Linked DNA regions of Homo sapiens: region 2 is linked to region 1. Evidence: promoter capture Hi-C in 16 types of primary human blood cells and fetal thymus (Javierre and others, 2016). All regions are on one chromosome and are shown on one strand. Each heading gives the region's core, a stretch centred on a gene start or on the middle of the fragment in contact. The rest is flanking DNA. Distances are from core to core; before and after follow the strand shown. Region 1 holds the start of LINC01588 (long intergenic non-protein coding RNA 1588). Region 2 overlaps NIN (ninein).

Region 1 (7,315 bases), core at 2,641-5,140:
CAGCCCGTGAACACCCCCGAGCCCGGTGCGGGCCGAGCAGTTCTCCGCACCTCCGGTAAAGGTGCAGGACCGGGTGATGGTCTCTGCAGCAGTCAGAAGGCTCCTCTCCCAGCCCAGGAACGTCTGCAATAAATTGCTTCCATGTGCGGGCTTCCCGCTTCCTCTTTCTCTCTCAGGGTTAATGTGGGAAAAGGGAAGTGGCTTTTTTTTTTTTATTTTGAAAATTAGCTTTAGGGCAAAGTCCTGCCAAGTGTGTAGTTCAATACCCCATATTATAGGTGAGGACACTGAGCTCCAGAGAGATCAGATTCCAGGTCACACTGCTGGTGCGCCGCCAAACCAGGTGGAGAACGCTGGTGCCTCCGCTCCTTGGGCATTTTGACTCCGGCATTCATGATTGTTTTCCCTTCTTTAATACCCACTACAGCAAAAATTTTGTTGCTGTTTCCCTCTGTTAAGAATTATTAAAACTTGGAGGAGGGGAAGCAAAAAGTTCTTTCAATATTAAATTAAAGCACTGTCTAACGAGCCCATCTGAGAGTCATTTGGCTATCTAGGGGAAGGTAGCTTTGACTTATTTTTTACTATAAAATAGAGTCCAAACGTTCTTAACTCTGAAATTAGTTAGGCCAGGAGCCCCGGCTCATGCCTGTAACCCTAGTACTTTGGAGGCCAAGATGGAAGGATTGCTTGAGGCCAGGAGTTCAAGACTAGTGTGAGCAACATAGCAAGAGTCCCATTATCGATTTTAAAAAATAAAATAACATGAGATAGTACTGTGTAGAAACTATTAAAATGTAAGTGCTGTCTGGGTACGGGAGCTCACGCCTATAATCCCAGCACTTTGAGAGGCTGAGGTGGGCTTGAGCTCAAGAGTTTGAGACCAGCCTGTGCAACATGGCGGCAAAACCCCTTCTCTACAAAAAATACAAAAATTAGCTGGGCATGGTGGTGTGTGCCTGTAGTCCCAGCTACTCTGGAGGCTGAGGTGGGAGGATGGCTTGAGCCTAGGAGGTGGAGGTTGCAGTAAACCAAGATCATGCTACTGCACGCCAGCCTGGGGGACAGAGCCAGATACTGTCTCAAAAAAAAAAAAAAAAAAAAAAAAGTAAGTGTTTTTCTGTTCTACAGAGATGCAAATGATTCCTATCTGGTCAGATAAATTACCTCAAAGGTTATAGTTTTGCTGCCCTGTAGCACATTAGCCAGTTTAGTATCTAACTTTGTGATCTTACGTCAGCATTCCTTTTCGTTCTCTGAGTACACAAAATCTTTATTCTCGTAATATCTTTGAACCAGTGTTGCCACCTTGCAAAGTCCCTTATGAATGAGTTACCTACCTCACCGATACATACTCACCATATCTTGTCAAGGCTTCATATTCCTTTCCCTGTATAGTCCCCACAAATATACACTGTCAGCTTTCAATGCACACCAAGCGCCCATTATTGATTCTTTGTCCCGAGTGGCTCCTCTGGAGCATATGCGTAACATCAGGGGGACATAGGGCTTTTAATTGTCAAAAGTATACAAACTCAGCACGTTATTCCAAATAATCTCTGCCCCTGCTCCCTCACATTTTGATCATGCCGTATCTGTGATCTGGGGCTGGGGACTCTGGCCCTCAAGATGCCTCCAATGCTCTCGGCCCCTGCTAAGAGCCTCTGCCCACACACGGGGTCATGCGCATAACCTTAGAACTCTGGGCACGGCTAGATGAACTGTGGCACGCACCTGATCTAGGCAGCAGCCCACTTCCCAGTTGGTCAGCCAGTGAAGGAAGGCTCAGCCCCACCAGGCCAGTGAGATTCTCCGTCTTGGCAAATTGCTTAAAGACTTGATAGTAAAGGAGAAAGAGATAAAGCAGGCACCTGAGGCCCCGAAGCAGCAGACACTTAAATAAGCAGCAGGAAGAAGGTCCTGGCAGAGACAGAACACCTGAGTTTTCCACATGGCACACGGACCTTGGAGGCACAGAGGGATGGGCCCCGCTACTGAGTGGCAAGAAGACGAAATGTCTGTGTCGTAGAACTGTGTGTGATCTTGAAAGACCTCTCGGTTCGTGAATGGCATCTTGGGTTCTGTCAGGCTCCACACAGGTTCTACTGCTCCTCTTCCTCCAACAGGCTGAGCTGTGTGACTTTTCCAGGGTTGCCATCCGACCTGTCATTTGGTCTGTGGCCCTTAGTTTCTTATCCACATGTGGCTGTAAAAGAAACTCCACAATCCTGGAGGGAACTCAGTGGGTCCCTACTTCCAATCCAAAAACCTCGACTCACTCTTTTACTTTTTCTAATAACTTAATAAGTTAAATAATAATAAAAGAATTGTTACCGTTGTTCAGCCAACTCTTTCCGGGCTCATCAACGATTTTCTAGGAAAGAAGGTTTCCTTGGTTAGACCTGCACTTCCTCTCTGTCTCTCTCCATTCATGTTTGAGCATTCATTCATTCTCCCCACAAGCACATCATGGATTCTAAAATGAAGAAGGCAATATTCGTACTTTGAAGATGCTCACATCTTGCATGTGCAGTGTTACAAGAGTGGGGTTGGTGCAGGAGTGAAATGGGAGGCCGTGTCCCGAGATGGGGTCACCAGAACCTGGAGTGACAAGGTGGAGGTGGGGAGAGGAGCTTTTCCTCCTGGCTTTCCCACAAACACTGACTTCCATGCCTCTGGCCTGGAACCACATGTAACCAAAGCCATATGTTCAACTTGCGTTAATTAAATGGTGGCCTCAGCAACATTTCTGGTGCTGCTTCTGTTGCTTTGGCATTATGATGTCTTCAATATTTGTTACTGTGTGTCGTTTGTCATGTTTAACCCAGTGGCTCAGATTCTATTTGTTTGTAAAACTTAAATGTTGAGAGACTTCTGTTCTTGATTTTTTAGAAAATAAAAATTATTTTTGGTTTATTCCATGAGAACATATCTTCTATAGGTTGAACCTCCAAGGTTCTTCCTTCTTGATTTTTCTGGGAGATGACTGTAATTTTTTTTTTTTTTTGAGACGGAGTTTCGTTGCTGTTGCCCAGGCTGCTGGAGTGCAATGGTGCAATCTCAGCTCACCGCAACCTCCGCCTCCCGGGTTCAAGGAATTCTCCTGCCTCAGCCTCCCAAGTAGCCGGGACTACAAATGCGTGCCACCACGCCCAGCTAATTTTTGTATTTTTAGTAGAGATGGGGTTTCACCATGTTGGTTAAGCTGGTCTTGATCCACCTGCCTCAGCCTCCCAAAGTGCTGAGATTATAGGCGTAAGCCACTGTGCCTGGTGTAATCTTAACTGCTTTTTAGGAAATGGTGTAAGAAAAGGCTGTGCCATAAACTCAAAATCCTACTAATCCCCAGTTCTCAGCCCCAAACCGAAGAAAGATTACATTTCCAGTCCAGTTTCTAATCCCAAGTATCCATGCACCCAGGATGGCGGGAAAAGGGAAAAGGCGGTACCTTAAATGAGGGAAGGACATCTCAGTCTTGGCCAGTTCTTACTCTTCCCAGGGGCCACCCTCAAGCCCCACCCTGAGCAGGTAAGTGAGGCAGGCAGGCAGCCTGGGAGCATGTGTGGGAGGGAATCCAACGGTGTTCTCCAGGCTGCAAGAGCTGGGCAGACACAATCGTGCTGCAGCCCTGGCCTGTGTTTTTCTTTCCCACAAAGACCAACACCGGTGCTGCTGACATCATGACAGGTTTGATCATTTTTATTTTGCGGTGAGCGTGGTGTCATGGTGATGAAGAGTCCTGTGAGCTTGTGCAGGTCCCCTCAACTGCAGGCTGTCCAGGCTTCCTCCTCTACAGTAAAGACAAGGAGAATGGCTGCTTCCTAAGGTGATGGCGAGGTAGGATGAGGAGTGTAAACGGCCCACCCTGCTCCCAGTGGTAACTATGGGTATGATTTCCTTTTGGGAGAAGACAGAGATTGCCCTTCTGATCCTCCCAGCTGTAAATTTGGGCTGGGGCAACTTTTAGACACAAACAGGGCACTCCTGGCTACAGGGCCTCAATGTTTTCCTTGAGGTGGAGTATCTAGGCATTTCCCTGAGGTTTCTGATGCCTGGGCAGGGTGGGGTGGGGTGTGGCTGGTTCTGACAGCTGTTCCCCACCCAGCTTTGTGCCCTGGGGAGGGAGATCTACCTGCACATCCCGCTGCACTGGATCTGCAGGGAGCTGGGGCTGCCCTTGGACGCCTCAGGCACAGGCCCTCATCCTCTGCCTAACTGCTTTTTACACCCATCCCTTGAGTCCAGGGAGATTTTGCCACAATTTCAAAAAAGAAATGATTATTCAGAAGGCATTCTTCTATATATTTCCTTTTTTTTTTTTTTTGAGATGGAGTTTCGCTCTGTCACCAGGCTGGAGTGCAGTGGCATGATCGGCTCACTGCAACCTCCGCCTCATGGGTTCAAGCGATTCTCCTGCCTCAGCCTCCCGAGTAGCTGGGACTACAGGTGCATGCCACCACGCCCAGCTAATATTTTAATTTTTAGTAGAGATGGGGTTTCACCATGTTGGCCAGGATGGTCTTAATCTCTTGACCTCGTGATCTGCCCGCCTCAGCCTCCCAAAGTGCTGGGATTACAGGCATGAGCCACCGTGCCTGGCCACATTTCTGTATATCTTGCAAGCAGACACACTGTCTGTCTTTTATTTGATCATCTTTCCAAGGATGCTGGTATAGCATGTATGCTTGGAAAATAGAGATGCTGTTTCTCCAGAGAAAGGGGGAGCTTGCTTGCATTCTTCTATGTAGTTCTAAGGCCCCTGCTCCACTGTACAGCAAGTGGCCACACCCTTAGTGTCTTCCTTGCCTAACCCAGACCCTTACAGCACTCAGCTTGGAAAAGACCCTTGCAGCGCTCAGTTGGGTGCCATGATTATGCCTGTAATCCCAGCACTTAGGGAGGCCAAGGTGGGTGGGTCACTTGAGCCTGGGAGTTTGAGACCAGCCTGGGCACCATGGCAAAACGCCATCTCTAAAAAAAAAAAAAAAAAAAACCACAAAAATTAGCCAGGCATGAGGATGCACCTGTAGTCCCAGCTACTGGGGAGGTTGCTGCAGTGGGAGGATTGCCTGAACCCAGGGAGGTTGAGGCTGCAGTGGGCTGTGATTGTGCCACTGCACTCTATCTTGGGTGACAGAGTGAGACCCTGTCTCAAACGAAAACAAAATTTCAAAAAAAAAAAAAAGAATGCATTCTTGCCCTTAGAGGCTCCATCCTCACCTCCCTCTTCTGGTTTCTCTTCCTCTGTCTCTGCTGTGTGTGTCTTTAATAAAGAACACTGAAATTAGTGAGCCAGGTTTGCCTCCTGGGCAGGAATTATGAAATCCAGGTGGCCTTGGTTGTAATAGGGGGAAAAAAAAACCTTTATTTTGTCTGCTTAGTGTTGTCCTGGCTTTTCTTTGCATATTCCGTCCCCCTACCCCCAAACTCACTGTGCTGTTCTGGTGAGGCTGACCCCACCCAGATTCAGGACTGACCCAGGCCTGGCCAATCAACAAGGCCTTCAGGGACTGGTACGTGTCAGTTAAATGAGTCAGTCCCAGGACGCTTTGTATATATATGTATGTAATATTTGTAACTATTGGGAAAGTGTCTAGCTTTCCACAGGAACTTCTAACCTGTTCCAGTGTGACCCTAAGGATGCCGGTAGCCATCTTGCCACTCTCGGGAGAGGAAGAGCCACAGAGACAAGGCAACTCTGAGAGCTGAGTCCTGATGACCGGTCGAAGCACCCGAATTCAGCAGTATGTGAAGCCCCTGAACTTCCAGTTATATGTGCTGATGAATTATCTTTTTTGCTGAAGTCCATTTGAATTGGAGTTTATATCATTTGCAATTTAAAGAGAACTGATCACCAGCTGGCTCAAGTCTGAAGTATAAACTGGTTTCTAGCAATCAAAAGCAATGTGTGACCAGCACAGTGGCTCCAGCCTGTAATCCCAGCACTTTGAGAGGCTGAGGAGGGAGGATCACTTGAGGCCAGGAGTTTGAGACCAGCCTGGGCAACATAGCTGGACCCCATCTCTAAAAATACGTAAATTAAAAATAATTTTTTTTTTTTTGAGACGGAGTTTCACCTTTGTCACCCAAGCTGGAGTGCAATAGCACGCTCTCGGCTCACTGCAAATCTCCGCCTCTCGAGTTCAAGCAATTCTCCTGCCTCAGCCTCCGGAGTAGCTGGGATTACAGGCATGCACCACCACGCCCGGCTAATTTTTTTGTATTTTTAGTAGAGACAGGGTTTCACTACGTTGGCCAGGCTGTTCTCGAACTCCTGACCTCAGGTGATCCGCCTGCCTCAGCCTCCCAAAGTGCTGGGATTACAAGCATGAGCCGCCACACCCAGCCTAAAAATAAAATTTTTAAATAAAATAAAATTTTTAAAAAGCAAAGTATTTCCGCCGGGCATGGTAGCTCATGCCTGTAATCCCAGCATTTTGGGAGGCCGAGGCAGGCGAATCATGAGGTCAGGAGATCGAGACCATCCTGGCTAACACGGTGAAACTCCGTCTCTACTAAAAATACAAAAAATTAGCCGGGTGTGGTGGCGGCCACCTATAGTCCCAGCTACTCGGGAGGCTGAGGCAGGAGAATGGCTGGAACCTGGGAGGTGGAGCTTGCAGTAAGCTGAGATCATGCCACTGCACTCCAGTGTGGGCAACAGAGCGAGACTCTGTCTCAGAAAAAAAAAGTAAAAAAGAAAAGAAAAAAGAAAAAACACTGCCTTCCACTTTTTCCCTCTTTATTAAAACCATTCCCCTTCCTTCATCATAGCTAGGTGATCTGTCTCCACTGTGCTTTTAGCAACACGGCCTTGAAAAAGAGACTCTGAGAGACTCACTCCAGTCATGCAGAATTTTGGGACAATAGTGAGGTTTTCTCCCCAGGGATCCCTTCCATGTTTGAATTTCCCCACTCCAAGAGTTGTTCAGCAGAGGCCATGGGGACTGGCATCTGGATCCCGACCCACACTTACTCCAAGTTTTCCACTTTCGGAAGTCTCCCAATCTTCAGGCTGAAGTTGACTTCAGTGGGGCAGGCAACTGCATGCCCTACCTAGGTGCCAGTGAGAATTGGATTCAGCTTTTAAAGACCCTACTTTCTGCCTCCAAATGGTCTAAACAAAGATAGAAGTGTATTTCCTTCTCAGGTGAATGAAGTCTGGACTTAGTCTTCCTGAGGTTGTCATGAACCAGGATCTCTTTATCCTGCTTTCTCCCCATCCTCGGCGTTTGGCATAAACCTTCCATGACTCCTTTCCCTCCCCTCTTCTCTCCCCACACTGCACATGCCATGTCACTTACTTCATTGGCTG
Region 2 (7,315 bases), core at 4,448-6,947, 820 kb after region 1:
GTCAGAGCTTCCATGCTAGCTGGCAAGCTTTAGACAACCTGCCCCGATGGTGCAATCGGTCAGCGTGGCCAAGCTGATTCGTTCTACTTCATTCAGCTTAGATGGCCCCCATCATAGCTAGACTGGAGGGCTGCAGCAAGAGGCACTAAATGAACACGACGTCTGCTACAAAACCACCTCCCTGTTTTACATGAAACTAAATGCCTTTTACACGAGTTCCTCAAAAAGCAACTCAATTAACTTCACTGGTGCAATTACATGAGGTGTGACGGGAAGAATATTCCCAGAAGCTTGCTTTAGTCCCAGCGAGTTTTAGGTAATGCTTAGTTGCCTAGAGAAAGGGGAAGACACTATTTCAACCTTTCAGACAGTGAGGTTTAAAGGAGCCACTGACTGGTTTATATGAATCATACAGCATCTCAGGGAACCTCCACTCACTAAAGCATCTCATCTCTTTATGCCTGGTTAACCTGTGTTCCGTCTCTCTCACCTACCCATACTCCAGGCTTTCCATTTTGCCACTGTCCTTAGGATCAGTAAAAACTTGGAGACGTCAATAACTGAGTCATTTTTGTTAAAAATATACATCATAAAATTCCAGGTAGCTCGTATTTTACTAATGAAATCTGTGGTTTTTTTTTTTTCCTTGCATGACAGTTCATTTTTAACGTGCTGGATTTTCCGATGAAAGCCTGAAACCTGCACATCTGAAGATGCCTTCGCCATGATGCAATGGATGCCAAACACGACATACACCCTTGGGACGGTGACCTCAGCCATCTGCAACAAGGCTCTCAGAACCAGTCCTTTGACTATAAAAAAAGCAGCAGCTTTCACTAACCAAGCATCTTTAATCCAAGCCAAATTACAGAACTCTCTAACTTAGAGGTGATCGTCCATACGGCAGATCATTACAACATGAAAAACGTAAGCTAAGATGTTGAACACAGCCAGAACTGAAAATAAAAGAGCTTTCTAAAACAAATCAATGTTGCTCTAGGTTGTGTTTGCTTTCTTTCCATAGACAGCTGTTCAAAACATGACAAGCTACAACAGGGCCACGATCTTGCCAGGGGTTTCAGCAGAACTGGGTGGACACAGAAGATAAATGTGAACAGCTCTGCCATACAGCTCAGTTTTTACTGGGGCCACTCATTAAAGTAAAGCAACATGGCACAATTTTGGTCCAGGTTCCTGGTCTTGGACAGGTCTCTTCTCCTAATTATCAGTTTTTCTGTTACTAAGGTGCTGCAGGCTCTGGCTGTCTTCCCAGGATTGGTCTGTTGGGTTAACTAATCACTATGTAAATGTTTTCAAAATAAGTTGAGAGTGTTATATAAACATCAAAGCCTCAGAAAAGAAACACCAAGTTGTTATGCAAAGCCACAGGAGTTAAGAATTTAGACAAGGCCAACACTTCGCTAACAAGATTCACTTAGAGTCCACCAGTTAATTGTCAACTAAGATCTGCTGAGAATCCCCAAGGTGCTCCAGGATTTTCAGTGTTGCGGTAGCTCTTAGTCTCACTCTGAGTTTTACAGTCCCCTGGGCTGTTATCTGACCGACCTCATAAAAGCAAGACTCTTCTTTTGCTTGATTTTGCATATATGTTTAAAAACTCAAAAGCGAAAGAATTCTAACACTTCCCTTTTTAAAAATTATTTTTAAGGGGCGGGGATTTGTCCATCTTAAACCAATGAAAGAGAGGAATAAAACACTGATGTACTGAGAAGCCCTGATCTTATCCACGGTGTCGAATTTGATATACTATCATGCCCCACTCTTTGGGAGGTCATTGGATTTTCACTAAATCAAACCTCTTTCATTTTATGGCAGCTTTCTTTTCTTTATCTCTTTATTTCATCTCCTTCCTTCTCAAAACACTGTGCTTGACTGAAGGGGAGACAAGCACCACCCCTGTGGAACAAATGCTCACGCTGAAACATCCAGGAGATGTTACGCATGGTGACAAGTTGTCAGTGCTCATCTGGCACAGAAGGCATTTTTACTGGTTGATATTATTTCCCAAATGTTCATCAGTAATTTCATGTGCAAGAATTTTTTTCTCCCCACTTGGCAGAAAGTTCTTTAATGGTAAGATCCACGCTCCTATTTCTTTTATATCTTCCCCCAAATGCATACTACAGTCAGTCTGTTCTTCAAGCCAGGGATTTGGTAAATATCATGGATTGACTTCCTGTATGGATCACTCCTTGAGAGGAAACGTACCCTAAATGAGGTCTACAGAAATGGGCATATGAAAATTTTGGAATGCCCATCTCATCCACCTACACACCTCCACTTCCCCCATCCCACCCTTTCTCAAAGGCATTTTCAGCCTCCTAAGCAAGAAGTAGAAAGCCAACACCAACTGCCAATCTGTAACATGCAGCGCTGTCTGAAGTTTAATTCAATAGGCTAGTAATTAAGTAAATGGATTCACAAACTTCGACTGCATTGTCTTGCTATGGGATGAAACTTTGGAGGAGAATCTATACTAAAACCTTTCTCAAGTCCCCTCGATTACAGCATGAGAATAACAATATCCATCTGGAAGGTTTGTTCTGAGAGTTAAATGTGGCAAGCAAGCGAGAGTGGCTAATTCCAGAGAAAGCTGATACAAGAGGGAATTTAAGATAACCAAAAGAATACCTGCAGCTACAAAGGAGTGGTAAACTGAAGAGGAGGTAACAAGTGAATTATCTACAGATCTACCTCCAAAGAAGCAAAGCAGGAGATGTGAAATGCTATAGAACAGACTGAGAATGGGCAGGGAGTGTACTATGTATATAAACATCATTATATAACTAAATGATAATGGCAGCAGGTAATGTTCAGAGCTTCCTCTATCTTTAAAAGCAGGTTATTGATAAATTTAATGTCAAATAAAAGCAGAAAGCTGCACTGTAACTGGGAATTACTTCTGAACATTTACTATGAGTCTGGCCTAAACTAAGTACTTTATGTATATCATCTCATTTAATCCTCCCAAATCTTAGAAGTGGATCTTCTCATTTTCCCACGCAAGATGTAGAAATTGGGGCTTGGCAAAATTAAGCCACTGTCCAAGGAGACAGCATTAATCTCCTTGAACAAAATGGGGGTGGAGCCAAGATTTGCACTCTAGTGTGACACTGAATTATATTATCCCTCAATCCTACACATGCACACAGAACACATGAATGAGACCTCTGAAATGATGCCATTGGCAAACCACTTATCTCCACCTTTATGTGTTAGCCAGTTGAACAGTACTAAGCAGTAGAAATCCCCACACAACACTCCATGGCCACAAACTTTTCCAAATTGGAATTGAGAAGCAGAGTTCCTTCCTTCCTACCTCCCTTGATCCATTTATTGAATAATTATAGCCTACAAGGCACCAGGGATATACAGATAGAATACACATTCCCTTTTTTTTCTAAAGCAGCTTTGGGATTTAGGGCATGAAAGAAAGAAATTCTTATATAAAAATGATCATGAAGTGTCCCATGTCTTCAATAATGGGCATTGCCCAGGAATTGGTAATTCGTAAATGACTTCCCCTGAATAAACACTTAAGTATGTATAATCTGTGCAATCCAGTGCTTTTCAGGGTCAGATCCTAACTGGTACCCACCAGAGGCAGGAGTCTTACTCAGAGATTAAGAAAGTTACATTTTGAGCGAGAAATTCTACTTCAAATTGCAAAGAAGAGCTCCAGTGTTACGAAGCCTGCCATAATAAACCTGGGCCTCTCCTCACCATCTACCTTTCCAGTCAAATTGTCAGAAGGCTTTATGACTCTTTCGGAATGAAAGAACCAGTATGGGCAATATTTTGGAGTTCTAACTGGGGATGGTTAAATAAGAAGCAGATGCACAGAACCATTAATCAAAACATTTACCACTCAATAACCACCCATAATGACAATTATTCTGAGCATTTTCCTTCCAAATAACTCAAAATAAGGCTGCCAAAATGCTGCCGACTCTGACAGTGGTGTTCATTACCCCAGCTGATGAAATCACAGTGCCAAATAGGACTGCAAACTAAATAGGTGGAGGTGTGGCTAGAATCATGAGTGGACATGTGGATTTATGAACTTTTCAGTGTTCAACCAAGGTACAGAAAGGAGCTTGTAACAATGACACCCCAGCTAAAGGGGACGTCTGTTCTGGGCCAGAGGGAGTGAAAAAGGGACAAAGTCTGGCGAGTGAAAAGGGGACAAAGTCTGGCAAGTGAAAACCAAGTAATAAATATGCACAATGCTAGAGCCCCTAGCCCAGGCCTTTTATTTCGCATCCAGATGGTTCAGCAGCTGAAGAGCTCTGCGGAATGTCTGCATGCCCCTCTCGGCTCAGCTGCTTTCCTTGAGAGGGCATCATAATAGATGCTTTTGGACCTGTGTGCAGACATAGCTGTTGGGGGTCCACAGACTAGGCAGTGACCACCAGTGACTCATTTACTTACTCTACAGCTGACGTGATGAACACCGACAAACCCCACTTGGGCAAAGCTCTCCATTTATGCCTTTAGCTTTCACCATTTGGCAAGTCGGAGCCTAATAACGCCAATGATCAAATTAAAGTGCTCTTTTTCTTCTTTCTTTTCTGCAAATACTTTAATTGGCTGCACAGATTTTCAGGCTCACCATATTGGACTACTTTCAGTATAAAAGGAAAGAGTGACAAGGATAAATTCAAGTTTAGTAAAAGCTCAATAGAAAAAGCAGTTGCAGCCATTTACGAGTTTATATAGGAGAATACTTCCGCCAAAAACCAGTGCTGCTTAGCAGCAAACTGATTACTGTCAGAATGCCTCCTCTCTGCTCAGTGTCTCACTTCTAGCTGGATACCAAAAGCACAACAATATCACTGTGAATGAAATCATGATACAAAAATATAACACGAAAGCTTAAATGCACAGGAAGAAAGTCACATTAAATACATTTGAAAAAATGGCTGGGAGCGGGGGCTCATGCCTGTAATCATAGCACTTTGGGAGGCTGAGGCAGGTGGATCACAAGGTCAGGAGATCGGGGCCATCCTGGCTAACACGTTGAAACCCTGTCTCTACTAAAAATACAAAAAAAAAAAAAAAAATAGCTAGGTGTGGTGGCGCACACCTGTAATCCCAGCTACTCGGGAGGCTGAGGCAGAAGTGTTGCTTGAACCTGGGAGGCAGAGGTTGCAGTGTGCCGAGATCATGCCATTGCACTCCAGCCCAGGAGAGAGCGAGAGACTCCGTATCAAAAAAAAAAAAAAAAAGAAAGAAAAAGAAAAATAACAACCTTTGTCAACTACACTATAATATTTAACTAAGGGAATCCTATCAGCGTTTATTCGAAAATGTAAGCAACCTTTATTATTTTACTATCCTGAAGGATGTAATAAACCCATGCTTTTGTTCAACCTAATAACTGGTAGATTACCCAATCAAGTAGTTAACTCAGGTTAGCTACAGGAAAAAAAAAACAAAAAACAAAAAACACAACAACAAAAAAACGCCATTAGCCTGGCACAATGTGCATTCAGTAACCTGTAATCAACTACTAAGTAAATTACAGAAGCAGAAAACAGAGCTGCATGTTTGTTACAAAAAAAAAAAAAAAGGAGAAAGCTTATAACAACTTCCACTTCTTAAGCCATATTGACTCACATTAATTTAGGATGCCTGAGGCTATGAGTATGGTACCCTGAGGTGTAAGTGAAGGTGATCTTCTCTTCTCACGTCTATGAACAATATTTTCCCAACTTTGTTTTTAAAGTGAGAATTAGGGTATAGATAGATGCTTTGTAATTTTTCCATCCAAAAGCTTGAATAAATGGTTAATTGCTGACTTAAATTGCAATAAAGAAGTGTCCTAATTTCAAACAAGGATGCTCACTTTCAGAATCTCATAATCTTTTCAAAATTCTATTTTATTCATAAATAGGATAAAAATCTTTTTGCAAGCTTCACTAAGTCTCTCCATAAGCCCCTGCCCAACAGATGCAAGTTCAATAGCTAGAATTCAAACCAGATAATTTATTGGCTTACAAATGAATTGGCATCTATAAAAATAAGCCTTCTAAAAAGGCTTCACGCTGTTTAAATCCTTCTAAAATGCTCTGGCTAAGCTTGCCCACCCTTTATCAATGTAAGACTGATAAAATGCATTTTCATTATCAACATAAAATGGAAGCATCAAGATAGTTGAAATGTTAGTTTAGAAAGTCATTTGCAGTGACATTTAAAACAATTTATTTGAACATTTGACTCATGATAAGAATACTGCCTATTACATTAAGATTGGCTGTTCAGAATTCACTGGAGCCCTATTCTCCCCCTCTGTGACAGTTAACATCTTTTGATATTAAGGGTCATTACACATCTAAAATGAAAAAGAAATAAGAAAAAAGAACCCCACGCCATTCTGAGCAAGTGCCTATTAAAATGACTGATCCTTGACATTTTAATGCAGACTGTATGATGGCTTCCTCTCTATTGCCCCCTGTGAAGCCTTTCCCTGTATTGGTAATAACTTTGCCGATGTCCAACCCTGTGGAACATTCATCCTACCTTTTCCCCACTCTGCAGAATGCTTCCCTCTAAAGAATCACCAGAGAACAGGGAAAATAAACAAATCTGCAAACAAATTCCCGGGCAGTTCACATCACCTCCCAAAGGACACTGACAATAGCTGAAGAGACCACAACACACAAACTCGTTTTTCAGCCAGCCTGTAATGTTCCTCCTATACACACTCTGGAAATCCTCAGCTCCCTTCAACTCCGGAGCAAGAGCCACCAATATTCCAGGTCAGCCACCTATATAATATGCTCACCACGAGAGAAGACTCAAGGTAAAATTAAACTGACAGAAAAAAGGAATTTTCCTTGTTAGATCATCAAGCCTCCGGAATCATGCAAACATGTGTGTATGTTATGGTGTTTACGGGGACCTAACTGAGAAACGTCGTGGTTCCAGGGGCTTCCCTCATGTGTCAGGATGGACTTTATCAGGATTCTCATCCTACAAAGCTACCATGTCAGTCACAAAAGACAACTACGCAATCTGTTTCGATGTAATAAATTCAGGAGTTGAGCTGTATGGCAAGCCCATCTTAGAAGTCCTCAACACCAGGAGAGGATCTGTCCTAGTTAGGAGCAGAAAGCAGATCTCATAATATCCAAGTTGTCTGGAAACATGATATATGGTAGGGCAGTCTTTCCAGCTCCCATTTTGTTGGTGCCTTCACCTCGGGTTGTCAGGGCTGGGGTTAGGGAAATTGCCTCTTTCCGTCTCTATCTCTTTTAACTTCGCAGCGAGAGCTGGAAGCAGTGACTGTTCC

The links. Contacts are between HindIII fragments. The CHiCAGO score rates a contact against its expected background, and 5 or more counts as called.
Region 2: a fragment that was not itself captured here is called in contact with the fragment with the promoter of LINC01588 in region 1 in 1 of 17 cell types (non-activated CD4 T cells); the score reaches 5.2 in non-activated CD4 T cells.

The regions. Positions count from the first base shown.
Region 1 is chr14:50,003,630-50,010,944 of GRCh38, forward strand. LINC01588 (long intergenic non-protein coding RNA 1588) reads right to left here and starts at 3,891. Exons shown (of 4, transcript NR_126498.1): 1 at 1,965-3,891. It overlaps LINC01599 (long intergenic non-protein coding RNA 1599), which reads right to left. Exons shown (of 9, transcript NR_131171.1): 7 at 7,305-7,315; 8 at 6,977-7,056; 9 at 3,684-3,790. RefSeq lists a silencer at 1-27 and an enhancer at 5,729-6,229. The HindIII fragment of the contact is 14,705 bases long and covers 1-7,315 here.
Region 2 is chr14:50,822,525-50,829,839 of GRCh38, forward strand. The region is part of intron 2 of NIN (ninein); the gene reads right to left. LOC105370489 (a long non-coding RNA gene) reads left to right here. Exons shown (of 2, transcript NR_135258.1): 2 at 658-985. Among named protein-coding and RNA genes, the nearest start is that of NIN, 5.0 kb to the right of the region's middle. The HindIII fragment of the contact is 196 bases long and covers 5,600-5,795 here.